Linked DNA regions of Homo sapiens: all the other regions are linked to region 1. Evidence: promoter capture Hi-C in human tissues and cell types (Jung and others, 2019). All regions are on one chromosome and are shown on one strand. The core of a region is centred on a gene start or on the middle of the fragment in contact, and the rest is flanking DNA. Distances in the headings are between cores, read along the strand shown. Region 1 holds the start of SLC30A5 (solute carrier family 30 member 5). Region 2 overlaps RAD17 (RAD17 checkpoint clamp loader component). Region 3 overlaps AK6 (adenylate kinase 6). Region 4 has its middle 33 kb from the start of MARVELD2.

Region 1 (2,700 bases), core at 185-2,684:
AATTTAAAGAAAATCAACGCTTTCCTTTTCAAAAAGGAGACAAAACAGTTTGCAGCAACACTTAACAAAATCCTCTTCCTTCTCCTATGTTCTGTCCTCACACAGTTGGATTCCAGGGCCTCTAGCAACAACGGTTACCAGTACTCCAGGCCCCACACAAAAAGCCACAAAAGCAGTCACCTTCCTCCGTTACTTTATTTGATAGATGACCCCAGGCTCCCTGTGGCAAAGAAGAATCCTTTCTTTTTCTTTCTTTTTTTTTTTTTTTCCAGAGACGGTCTTGCTCTGTTGCCCAGGCTGGAGCACAGTAGCATGATCATGCCTTATTGCAACCTTGACCTCCCACGTTCAAGCGATCCTTCCGCCTCTCCCTCCTGAGTGGCTGGGACCACAGGCATATGCCACGCCTGGCTAATTGTTTTTGTATTTTTGATAGAGACAGGGTTTTGCCATGTTGCCCAGGATAAGAATGTTTCTTTAGAAATCTGGAAATTGCCTTTAGGTTCCCTTAGGAGTAGGAGAGAAGGCCATGAAGTTTCGCACGTGGTCACTCCTAGAAAATTGCCCTGGGATAGTTTGCTGAGGAGGCAAATTTTGGTCAATACTAGTTTCTCCTCTCCAAAGTCCATCAAAGGCATTGTTCAAAAGAAATGGCCGTACCACTATTTGTAATTGATTCTCTACAGCTTCAAAAATAGTTATCTCTGGTTGGGGGAAGGGCACGTGAACTTTTAAGACTTCGGGCCTTCTCATCACAAAAATGATCCATACTCACAAAAACTTAGAGGCAGAGGGTATGTTAACCTAGATTAAGAATCTCTAGGCCGAGTGCGGTGGCTCACTCCTGTAATCGCAGCACTTTGGGAGGCCGAGGTGGGTGGATCACCTGAGGTCAGGAGTTCGAGACCAGCCTGACCAACATGGAGAAACCCCGTCTCTACTAAAAATACAAAATTAGCCAGGTGTGGTGGCACATGCCTGTAATCCCAGCTACTTGGGAGACTGAGGCAGGAGAATCGCTTGAACCTGGGAGGTGGAAGTTGCCGTGAGCCGAGATCGCGCCATTGCACTCCAGCCTGGGCAACAGGAGCGAAACTCCATCTCAAAACAAAAAAAAAAAGAATCCCTAACGCAGAGGAAAAGATTGGTGAGCTTTGTTTAATCACACACGCTGTACATTTTCCACGCCCTCCCCCTCTGCCCTACAGGAATCCGCTGTACTTCTGACGGCCCATAGGTGGCACTGTAGGGACAGGTAAGTGCACAGGGAGCGCCACCCGGAGAGGCTGATAGGAGGCGGAGCTTCAATGCGACACAACGTGGCGGGAGGAGCCTAAGGGACGAGGAAAGGCGAGTGTTCTGCTTGCGCAGACGCAAGGCTGGGCACTCCCCCGGGAGTGAGGGTTGCTGGGCCTGATGACGTGGCTTGGCAACGTCCCTACCGCCGCTGCTTCCCGGGAACCTGGCGCCGCCGGAACTGATCGCGGCCTAGTCCCGACGCGTGTGTGCTAGTGAGCCGGAGCCGGCGACGGCGGCAGTGGCGGCCCGGCCTGCAGGAGCCCGACGGGGTCTCTGCCATGGGGGAGTGACGCGCCTGCACCCGCTGTTCCGCGGCAGCGGCGAGACATGAGGAGACCCCGCGACAGGGGCAGCGGCGGCGGCTCGTGAGCCCCGGGATGGAGGAGAAATACGGCGGGGACGTGCTGGCCGGCCCCGGCGGCGGCGGCGGCCTTGGGCCGGTGGACGTACCCAGCGCTCGGTAAGGGACCGATCCGGAAGGCAGCGACCGGCCGGGTCGCTCAGGATGCACTTTCTCCGGCCTCCCTCCGGTCTCCGCTGACAGCCCGGGACGTCCCGGGGTCGGCGCGCCCTCTCCCCCTGCCTGCCTCCCTGCGCGCAGGCTGCCTCCGGGCTCCCCGGGCTCTTCGGGTGCCTGCTGCAGAAGGAAGGCGCTAAAGCCAAAAAGCTTCTGCTTGAATTTCTGGGTTACAAGGCAGACAGTCAGTCTTAGAACTGCCCGCCAGTTCACGTGAGAGGTTTTTCTGATCTGTGAGAAGCCTTTCTCTTGGCTGTTTCTCCCTGAAATAGTCTGGCGACTACTTAACCTTTCTGACGTTTCCCTGCATAAATTAGGGGAAGGTGTCACCATCAGCTCTCTTCAGGCGACGAAACCAAAGTACATACGTGAACTTGGATGTTCAGGGGAACTTGGATGTTCAGATTAACTGAGCACATCGAGGGTCCAGCCCCGTTTTCTTTTTTTATTTTGTTCTTAAATAAGAAATGTGTCCTCGTTGTCAAAAAAAAATCTAAACAGCAAAGCAATTCATAGAGTAAAAAGTGAAAATTCCCACTTCCTCTCTTCAATTCTCCCACCAACCCGAAAAGTAAGGGACCAACAGGTGCAGCGACCACTTTCTAGTGTATCCTTCCTAAGTTCTGAGATAGTGTCGAAAATGCACAAAATACAGCCCTGCAATTTGGCTGGAACTGGTGTTCTTTGCCTCCATTTTTAACGAGTTCTTCCCATTCTGGAATAAATACTTCTTTGATATTTAAAGAAAGTGATAAATGTGATAAATTCTTTAGAACTGTAGTAATAGCATTATAACGTAACTTTTTTTTTTTTTTTTTTTTTTGAGACGGAGTTTCGCTCTTGTTCCCAGGCTGGAGTGCAATGGCGCGATCTCGGCTCACGAC
Region 2 (2,700 bases), core at 185-2,684, 290 kb after region 1:
TTGATAATAGTAACAATTTTATTTATTTTTATTTTTTTTGAGACAGAGTCTCACTCTGTCGCCCAGGCTGGAGTACAACCTCTGCCTCCCAGACTCAAGCTATTCTCATGCCTCAGCCTCCTGAGTAGCTGGGATTAGAGGCATGTGCCACCACACCCAGCTAGTTTTTGTATTTTTAGTAGAGATGGGGTTTTGCCATGTTAGCCAGTCTGGTCTCGAACTCCTGGCCTCAAGTGATCCACCTGCCTCTGCCTCCCAAAGTGCTGGGATTATAGGCGTGAGCTACCATGCGTGGCAATAGTACCAATTTAAAGATGTAATACGTTATAAGTTCATGCATATGCTTATGTACCTTAGCACTATCATTTTTATCTTTCATAGTTTTTCATATTGCAACTCCAGGTGGTGAAACTAGGGATAGCCAAATCTCCTAGGCCATTTTGAAGGGAAAAGGGTTCTGTAGAAGGATAATTTTAATGTGGAGTGTTCCTCAAAATCCCTTCTCTGGACTCTTCTTTAATGTACTCCCTTGTGCTACTAGTATCCCATCCTGCTGGGGCTTTTACTGTTTTCTTTTCTTTATTATTATTATTACTATTATTATTATTTTTTTTTTGAGATGGAGTCTTGCTCTGTCACCCAGGCTGGAGTGCAGTGGTTTGTCTCACTGCAAGCTCCGCCTCCTGGGTTCAAGCAATTCTCCTGACTCAGCCTCCCAAGTAGCTGGGATTACAGGCGTCCACCACCATGCCCGGCTTATTTTTGTATTTTTTAGTAGAGATGGGGTTTCACCACGTTGGTCAGGTTGTTTTCGAACCCCTGACCTCAGGTGATCCAACCACCTCGGCCTCCAAAAGTGCTGGGATTACAGGCGTGAGCCACCACGCCCGGCCCATTATTATTATCATTTTTTTAAGAGAGAAAGTCTCACTATATTGTCTAGAATGAACTTCTTAAGCATTTAAGGGATTCTCACGACCCAACCTCTGGGGTAGCTGGGACTACAGACGTGTGTTCCTGCATCTGGCTTTTACTGCTTTCTAAATAGTAGCATTACTTTTGACAGTCTGATAAGCTTTAACTTAAACAGTCTTCAATATGAAACATGCCTTCAGAGAGCTTCCCTCATTCTCAAGTTCACTAATCAGTTATTCTGTTTTTGTTGTTAAACCTTTATCACTCCAGCCTGACCAACATGGAGAAACCCCGTCTCTACTAAAAATTCAATAATTAGCCAGGCGTGGTGGTGTGTTCCTGTAATCCCAGCTACTCAGGAGGCTGAGGCAGGAGAATTGCTTGAACCTGGGAGGTGGAGGTTGCAGTGAGCCAAGATTGCGCCACTGCACTCCAGCCTGGGCGACAGAGCAAGATTCCGTCTCAAAACAAACAAACCAAACCCTTATCACTGAAGGTAATTCATTTATAGGCTTGAACTCATTTAGAGATTCTTCATTGGGTAGGCCACAGTCATAGATATTTTTACCAATTATATGAATGTTATACCGACAGCTGTGTTCTTAGGTCAGTTAACTCCATATTACACAGGGTCTCACTCTGTCACCCAGGCTGGAGTGCAGTGACACAATCTTGGCTCACTGCAACCTCCACCTCCTGGGCTCAAGCTATTACCCCCACCCTCTGCCTCAGCCCTGCAAGTAGCCAGAACTACAGGCACAAGCCTCCACACCTGGCTAATTTGTGTATTTTTTTGTAGAGACCGGGTTTCACCATGTTGCCCAGGTTGCTCTTGAATTCCTGAGGTCAAGCGATCCACCTGCCTCGGCCTCCCAAAGTGCTGGGATTACAGGCGTGAGCCACTGTGCCTGGCTACATGTTGACTCTTGTCCTTTGAAAGGAATATCCTATTTTAAATTTAAATGATTTTTCCTAATTGGGAAATAGTCTACAGTATTGTGAGATGCATCAAGTATGTGTGTGTGTACATACAGATGTATAATATTAATGTATATCATTTGTTGAAAATAAAAGTGGTTATGTGTTTCCTTTCAGAATCAAGCTTCCATATGTTTCCCTATCAGTCTCAGATAGCAGTTTTCAAAGAGTTTCTACTAAGAGCGACAAAGTATAACAAGTTACAAATGCTTGGAGATGATCTGAGAACTGATAAGAAGATAATTCTGGTTGAAGTAAGGACAACTTTTAAAATCTTTTTTTTTTTTTTTTTGAAATGGAGTCTTGCTGTGTCACTGTCACCCAGGCTGGAGTGCAGTGGCGCGATCTCAGCTCATTGCAAGCTCTGCCTCCCAGGTTCACGCCATTCTCCTGCCTCAGCCTCCGGAGTAGCTGGGACTACAGGCGCCCGCCACCACGCCCGGCTAATTTTTTGTATTTTTTAGTAGAGACGGGGTTTCACTGTGTTAGCCAGGATGGTCTCGATCTCCTGACCTCATGATATGCCCACCGTGGCCTCCCAAAGTGCTGGGATTACAGGCGTGAGCCACCATGCCTGGCCTAAAATCTTTTTTTTTTTTTTTTTTTTGAGACAGAGTCTCTCTTTAACCCCTAGGCTGGAGTGCAGTGGTGCAGTCTTGGCTCACTGCCACCTCCGCCTCCTGGGTTGAAACAATTCTCATGCCTCAGCCTCCCCCGAGTAGTGGGGATTACAGGAACCTGCCACCATGCCGGCCTAATTTTTGTATATTTAGTAGAGATGGAGTTTTGCCACGTTGGCCAGGCTGG
Region 3 (2,700 bases), core at 201-2,700, 270 kb after region 1:
CTAGGTTTTAGAAACTATAACCTTGATAAATTGACGTTCTTTTGGACAAAAAAATATTTTAAATTAAAAAAAATATATATATATATAAACACTATAACCTAATTATCAGCCCTGGATCAAAAATGAACATGATACTGGCTTATAGTATCAGGAATATGAAAAACAAAGATGCTCAAAATTAACCTGCAAAAAGAGACACTTATAAATTTTTTTTTAAAAAGTGGAGACATACTGGGAGACACTAAGGGTCCTTAATATAACCAAAAGGACAGAAAAATGGGACCTAGGAAGTTGGGCAATTGAGGAAGATAATCAAAGCAGGTTAAGAATTCACTATGAATAAAAATCCTGACCAACTGGTCTCTCCAAAGGGGAGTCATGGTTATACTTCAGCAATCTGAGAGAACAGATCACAAGAGTGACGTACACACCAGAGATCATACTATGATCTATGTATCTGAAGACGTTTAAGGTGACACTCTAGTGGTCAAAAATAGACTGCAGTACTGCAAATTGCTGCAACTGCCAACTGTTACTCCTCTTGGTGACAACAAGGAGAAAATTGCTTTTAAAAACATAACTGCCAAAGCACCAACAATCGAATGAATGACAACTTTATTTTTCTTACACTTTTAAGGCTGATGAAAAACCTTCATTTCAATTGAAAAGTATGGTAACTGTGTTTACTCATTATTATTAGTTTTCTAAAACACAACTTGAAAACATCCAGCATGCATGTTTAATATCAGTACAATGAATTCAAGACCAAGTATACATGTTACATTCAGCAAGGCTAGATTACAGATTATCATAGTCATCATCATCATCATCGTCATCATCATCATCTTCACGTTTTCTTTTCAATGCATTTGATGATTCATTGGCAGTATTTTGTGATGACATCATATTAGTGGTAATAAGAATGTTTTTGGACCCGATTAATGATGGATTAATCAGAACATTCTGAACTGCTGAGGTTGCAGGAATTGAAGCTTTTACAGCTGGAGACTGAGAAGTAGGCATCTGTACTGTAAACCTTTGACCTGTGAGGGACATGGGAGTCCCTACTTTAGTTGAAACAGACATGGTCTGTGGGGTTGGTGTGCCTAGTGTGGGAGTACTTGGTCTGCTAGTAACTGAACCAACACTTAACCGCGGGACTGTTATTCTTCCCGCAGAAGTTGATGCCTTTTTCTGTAAAGATTTCAGCCTATAGTTTGGAGCTGTTAAGCAGTATCTATCAGGTGGCAACCTAGGACCTGAATATGGCTTGATCAATGGCAAAGGGGTTTGATTTCTTTGCCTTGCAATATCTAATAAAAAATCTCTTGGGGGAGGAGAGGTAAAAGACTGATCAGCGCGGCACTGGATTGCCAATCGCACATCATCTGCATCAACAGTAGCTTTCTTAGCATGGCTTGAATAAATTTTTGCATCATCTAGAATTGTGGTCACATATCGGAAGGCAAACTCCAACATCTGATTTATAACTCTTGGCTCATATTCTGTAATCCCCATATCCTTCAGGATTTGTGCCATCATCTGTGCATCTTTCGGCATGCTCTTGGGAGAAGCCGTCTTGCCAGACTCCATGATATCCGATGATCAGACTTTAGATCATTTGAAAAAAATATGTACATTAGATCAATCTGAAATAGTTACTTTAGTAGCAACTGTCAGGAACTTAAAAAAATTTTAAATCTATGTTAAACTGTAAAAAAATTTTTAAAATTTAAACCATATGTTTTCTTAATTTTAATGAGGCAACTTAAGGTCGCTTTAATTTATTGAGTTCCTACCATGTACAAATCATTGTCGACTATAAAAAGATGAAGACACAAATAAGGGAGCGATGAAAGATTAGGGGAAAACAGGGTAAAATAAATAAAAACAATGATCATCTTAGAATATATGCAGTTGCATGCAAATCTCACACTAATCTAAGATACCATAGCATAGTCAGGTCCCACACCTGAGCTCAAAACAGTCTCTTTCCAGTGAGACCAATATACTCACTGTGCTCATATATATGTTTAGCAGTACCAAACCTTTGTTTGTTCAACTTAAAAACATTCTCCTTATTCACATTCTACCTATCCGAAATCCAGTCTCTTTATAGGAGCCTTCCCAACTATTCACAAGAATTGCCAGCCATTTTGAAGGCGGAAGGGAAAATGGTCAAAATAACCAGGACATAGCATTAGACACTTAATATTTCTGTGGATTCCCTAACAGAGTATATATTCTTTAATGGCAATCTCTGTTTTTTGTACCCTATGACAATACCCAGCACTAACACTCCACTTACCAGACCTTAAAAAAAAAACAAAACAAATCTAACACCAAAGTGTCCCTTACCTTCTCGAGCTAAATCACCCACATTAATGTATTTCAGTCCTGATTTTGACGCAAGTTCTTTGCCTAGTGTGGTTTTTCCAACCCCTGGTGTACCTGTAAGACAAGCCACAGAAAAATACTGTTTGTGAAATACTACTTATCACACTGCGGTCCACCTTCTGCCTTTCCTTTTATTTTTGAGACAGAGTCTCACCTGGCCTCTGCCCTTAAAAGTTCTTGACGACTGAAATGAAAAATTTCCTAATTAGCAATCATATGTAAAATTTTTTTTTTGAGACAGAGTTTCACTCTTGTCGCCCAGGCTGGAGTGCAGTGGCACAATCTTGGCTCACTGCAACCTCC
Region 4 (2,700 bases), core at 97-2,596, 350 kb after region 1:
ATGCCCGGCTGCTTTCAATGGGTTTTTAAAGGAGAGTATGACAGACCTGCTCGAGCATGTAATAGACTACTTGTCCTATAATAGACAAACTGGGGATAGGCAGAAGGCAGGAGGGATGGTTTAGCCCCGCAGAAGGCGAAGAAGGTGAACTTCTGAGCTCATCACAACCAAGACTCCATTTCTTACTATGTGGCCTTGACAAATTAACATCTCCAACCATCAGCCTCCTTAACTGTGATGTGGCGATAATACCACCTGACGAAATTGTTGTGAAAATTAAATAATGTAAAACACCACGAAGATACTTGCTCAATAACTGGTGGCTAGATACTCAAAATATACTTTTCATTGTGTTAAATAATAAGGTGGCTATAGACTATCAAAATGACTTCTTTTGAATAATAAAAGTTATAAAAAGCTTTTTTAAAAAGTATATAGGTAATATATTTATTATAGAAAATTGATTAGGTCAGGGGTGGTGGCTCATGCCAGTAACCCCAGCCCTTTAGGAGGCTGATGTGGGTGGATCACTTGAAGCCAGGAGTTTGAGAACAGCCTGGCCAACATGGCAAAAACCCTTCTCTGCTGAAAATACAAAAATTAGCTGGGCGTGTTGTCGCACACTGTAGTCCCTGGAGGTAGTCCCGGGAGGCTGAGGCACGAGAACCGCTTGAACCTCAGAGGTGGAGGTTGCAGTGAGCTGAGATCGTGCCACTGCACCCCAGCCTGGGCGACAGAGCAAGACTCTGTCTCAGAAAAAAAAAAAAAAAAGTACAAAAATTAGCCTGGTGTGGTGGTGCACGCCTGTAATCTCAGCTACTCGAGAGGTTGAGGCATGAGAATTGCTTGACCCCAGGAGGTGGAGGTTGCAGTTAGCTGAGACCATGCCACTGCACTGCAGCCTGGGTGACAGAGTAAGACTCTGCAGAAGGAAGGGAAGGGAAGGGAGGGGAGGGGAGGGGAGGGGAGGGGAGGGGGAAAGAGAAAGAAGAAAGAGAAAGAAGGAAGGAGAGAAAGAGAGAGGAAGGGAGGGAGGGAGGGAAAGAGAAAAGAAAGAGAAAGAAGAAAAGAAAGAAGAAAGAAAAAGAAGAAAAGAAGGAAGGAAGGGAAGAGAGAGAGAGAGAAAGGAAGGAAGGAAGGAAAGAAAGAAGAGAGGCCAGGTGCGGTGACTCACGCCTGTAATCCCAGTACTTTGGGAGGCTGAGGCAGGCGGATCAAGAGGTCAGGAGATCGAGACTGTTCTGGCTAACATGGTGAAACCGCGTCTCCACTAAAAATACAAAAAATTTAGCTGGGCTTGGTTGCGGGCACTTGTAGTCCCAGCTACTCGGGAGGCTGAGGCAGGAGAATGGCGTGAACCCGGGAGGCGGAGCTTGTAGTGAGCCGAGATCGCGCCACCACACTTCAACCTGGGCAACAGAGCAAGACTCAGTCTCGGAAAAAAAAAAAAAAAAAGAAAGTTATTTTGAAACTCCAACCTCTGATGATAGAATTCAGAATAGGGGTTACCTGTGAGAGAGGTTTATTGGCTGGGAAGGAGCATGAGGGAGCTTTCTGGGTACTATACCTTCATCTGGTTCGTTGCTTACCAGGATATATACATATTTAAAAATCCATCAAGCTAAGCATTTAAAATTGGTGCCTTTTACTGTACATATATTATACATGTATTTTACCTCAATTTTTTTTCTTTTTTAAGACGGAGTCTCTCTCTGTTGCCCAGGCTGGAGTGCAGTGGCGCAATCTCGCCTCACTGCAACCTCCACCTCCAGAGTTCAAGTGACTCTCCTGCCTCAGCCTCCCGAGTAGGTGGGATCACAGGTGTGAGCCACCACGCCCAGCTAATTTTTGTATTTTTAGTAGTGACGGGGTTTCACCATGTTGGTCAGGCTGATCTCGAATTCCTAGCCTCAAGTGATCCACCCACCTCGGCCTCCCAAAGTGCTGGGATTACAAGTGTGAACCACTGCGCCTGGACAGGGTCTTGCTCTGTCTCCCAAGCTGGAGTGCAGTGATGTGATCTCAACTCACTGCAACCTCTGCTTTCCAGGCTCAAGCAGCCCTCCAGCCTCAGACTCCGGAGCAGCTGGGCAGCTGGGACCACAGGAGCAAGCTACCACGCCCAGCTAATTTTTTTTTTTAAGAGATGGGGTTTCCATGTTGCCCAGGCTGGTATATCTCAAATTTTTTTTTTTTTTTTGAGACGGAGTTTTGCACTGTTGCCAGGGCTGGAGTGCAATGGTACGATCTCAGTTCACTACAACCTCTGCCTCCCAGGTTCAAGCGATTCTCCTGCCTCAGCCTCCCGAGTAGCTGGGATTACAGGCGCCTGCCACCATGCCCGGCTAATTTTTTGTATTTTTAGTAGAGACGGGGTTTCACTATGTTGGCCAGGCTGGTCTCGAAGTCCTGACCTCCAGATCTGCCCGCCTTGGCCTCCCAAGTGCTGGGATTACAGGCGTGAGCCACCGTGCTTGGCCCTCAATTTCTAACAATTATACTGTATACATGTTTGAACAAAAGTATGTTCACAGTTTTTTTTTAAGTAATGTTGTTGTTGTTGTTGTTGTTGTTTTGAGACACTGTCTCACTCCCTCGCCTGGGCTGGAGTGCAGTAGTGTGATCTCGGCCCACTGCAACCTCTGCCTCCTGCGTTCAAGTGATTCTCCTGCCTCAGCCTCCTGAGTAGCTGAGATTACA

The links. Contacts are between HindIII fragments. The study calls those that stand out against the background at their distance.
Region 2: a fragment that was not itself captured here is called in contact with the fragment with the promoter of SLC30A5 in region 1 in 2 of the 25 tissues and cell types used here (IMR-90 fibroblasts and stomach).
Region 3: a fragment that was not itself captured here is called in contact with the fragment with the promoter of SLC30A5 in region 1 in 1 of the 25 tissues and cell types used here (hippocampus).
Region 4: a contact is called between a fragment that was not itself captured here and the fragment with the promoter of SLC30A5 in region 1, in 1 of the 25 tissues and cell types used here (lymphoblastoid cells).

The regions. Positions count from the first base shown.
Region 1 is chr5:69,092,580-69,095,279 of GRCh38, forward strand. It overlaps SLC30A5 (solute carrier family 30 member 5), which reads left to right and starts at 1,435. Exons shown (of 16, transcript NM_022902.5): 1 at 1,435-1,759. The coding sequence starts at 1,677. RefSeq lists silencers at 1,148-1,257, 1,588-1,877, 1,923-2,217 and an enhancer at 1,358-1,457. The HindIII fragment of the contact is 15,344 bases long and covers 1-2,700 here.
Region 2 is chr5:69,382,787-69,385,486 of GRCh38, forward strand. RAD17 (RAD17 checkpoint clamp loader component) reads left to right here. Exons shown (of 19, transcript NM_133338.3): 8 at 2,011-2,147. Among named protein-coding and RNA genes, the nearest start is that of RAD17, 14 kb to the left of the region's middle. The HindIII fragment of the contact is 4,917 bases long and covers 1-2,700 here.
Region 3 is chr5:69,364,145-69,366,844 of GRCh38, forward strand. AK6 (adenylate kinase 6) reads right to left here. Exons shown (of 5, transcript NM_016283.5): 2 at 2,359-2,451. TAF9 (TATA-box binding protein associated factor 9) reads right to left here. Exons shown (of 3, transcript NM_003187.5): 2 at 2,359-2,451; 3 at 599-1,610. The coding sequence starts at 1,593. The coding sequence ends at 799. Among named protein-coding and RNA genes, the nearest start is that of AK6, 4.0 kb to the right of the region's middle. The HindIII fragment of the contact is 3,949 bases long and covers 1-2,700 here.
Region 4 is chr5:69,446,319-69,449,018 of GRCh38, forward strand. No RefSeq gene overlaps it. Among named protein-coding and RNA genes, the nearest start is that of MARVELD2, 33 kb to the left of the region's middle. The HindIII fragment of the contact is 6,025 bases long and covers 1-2,700 here.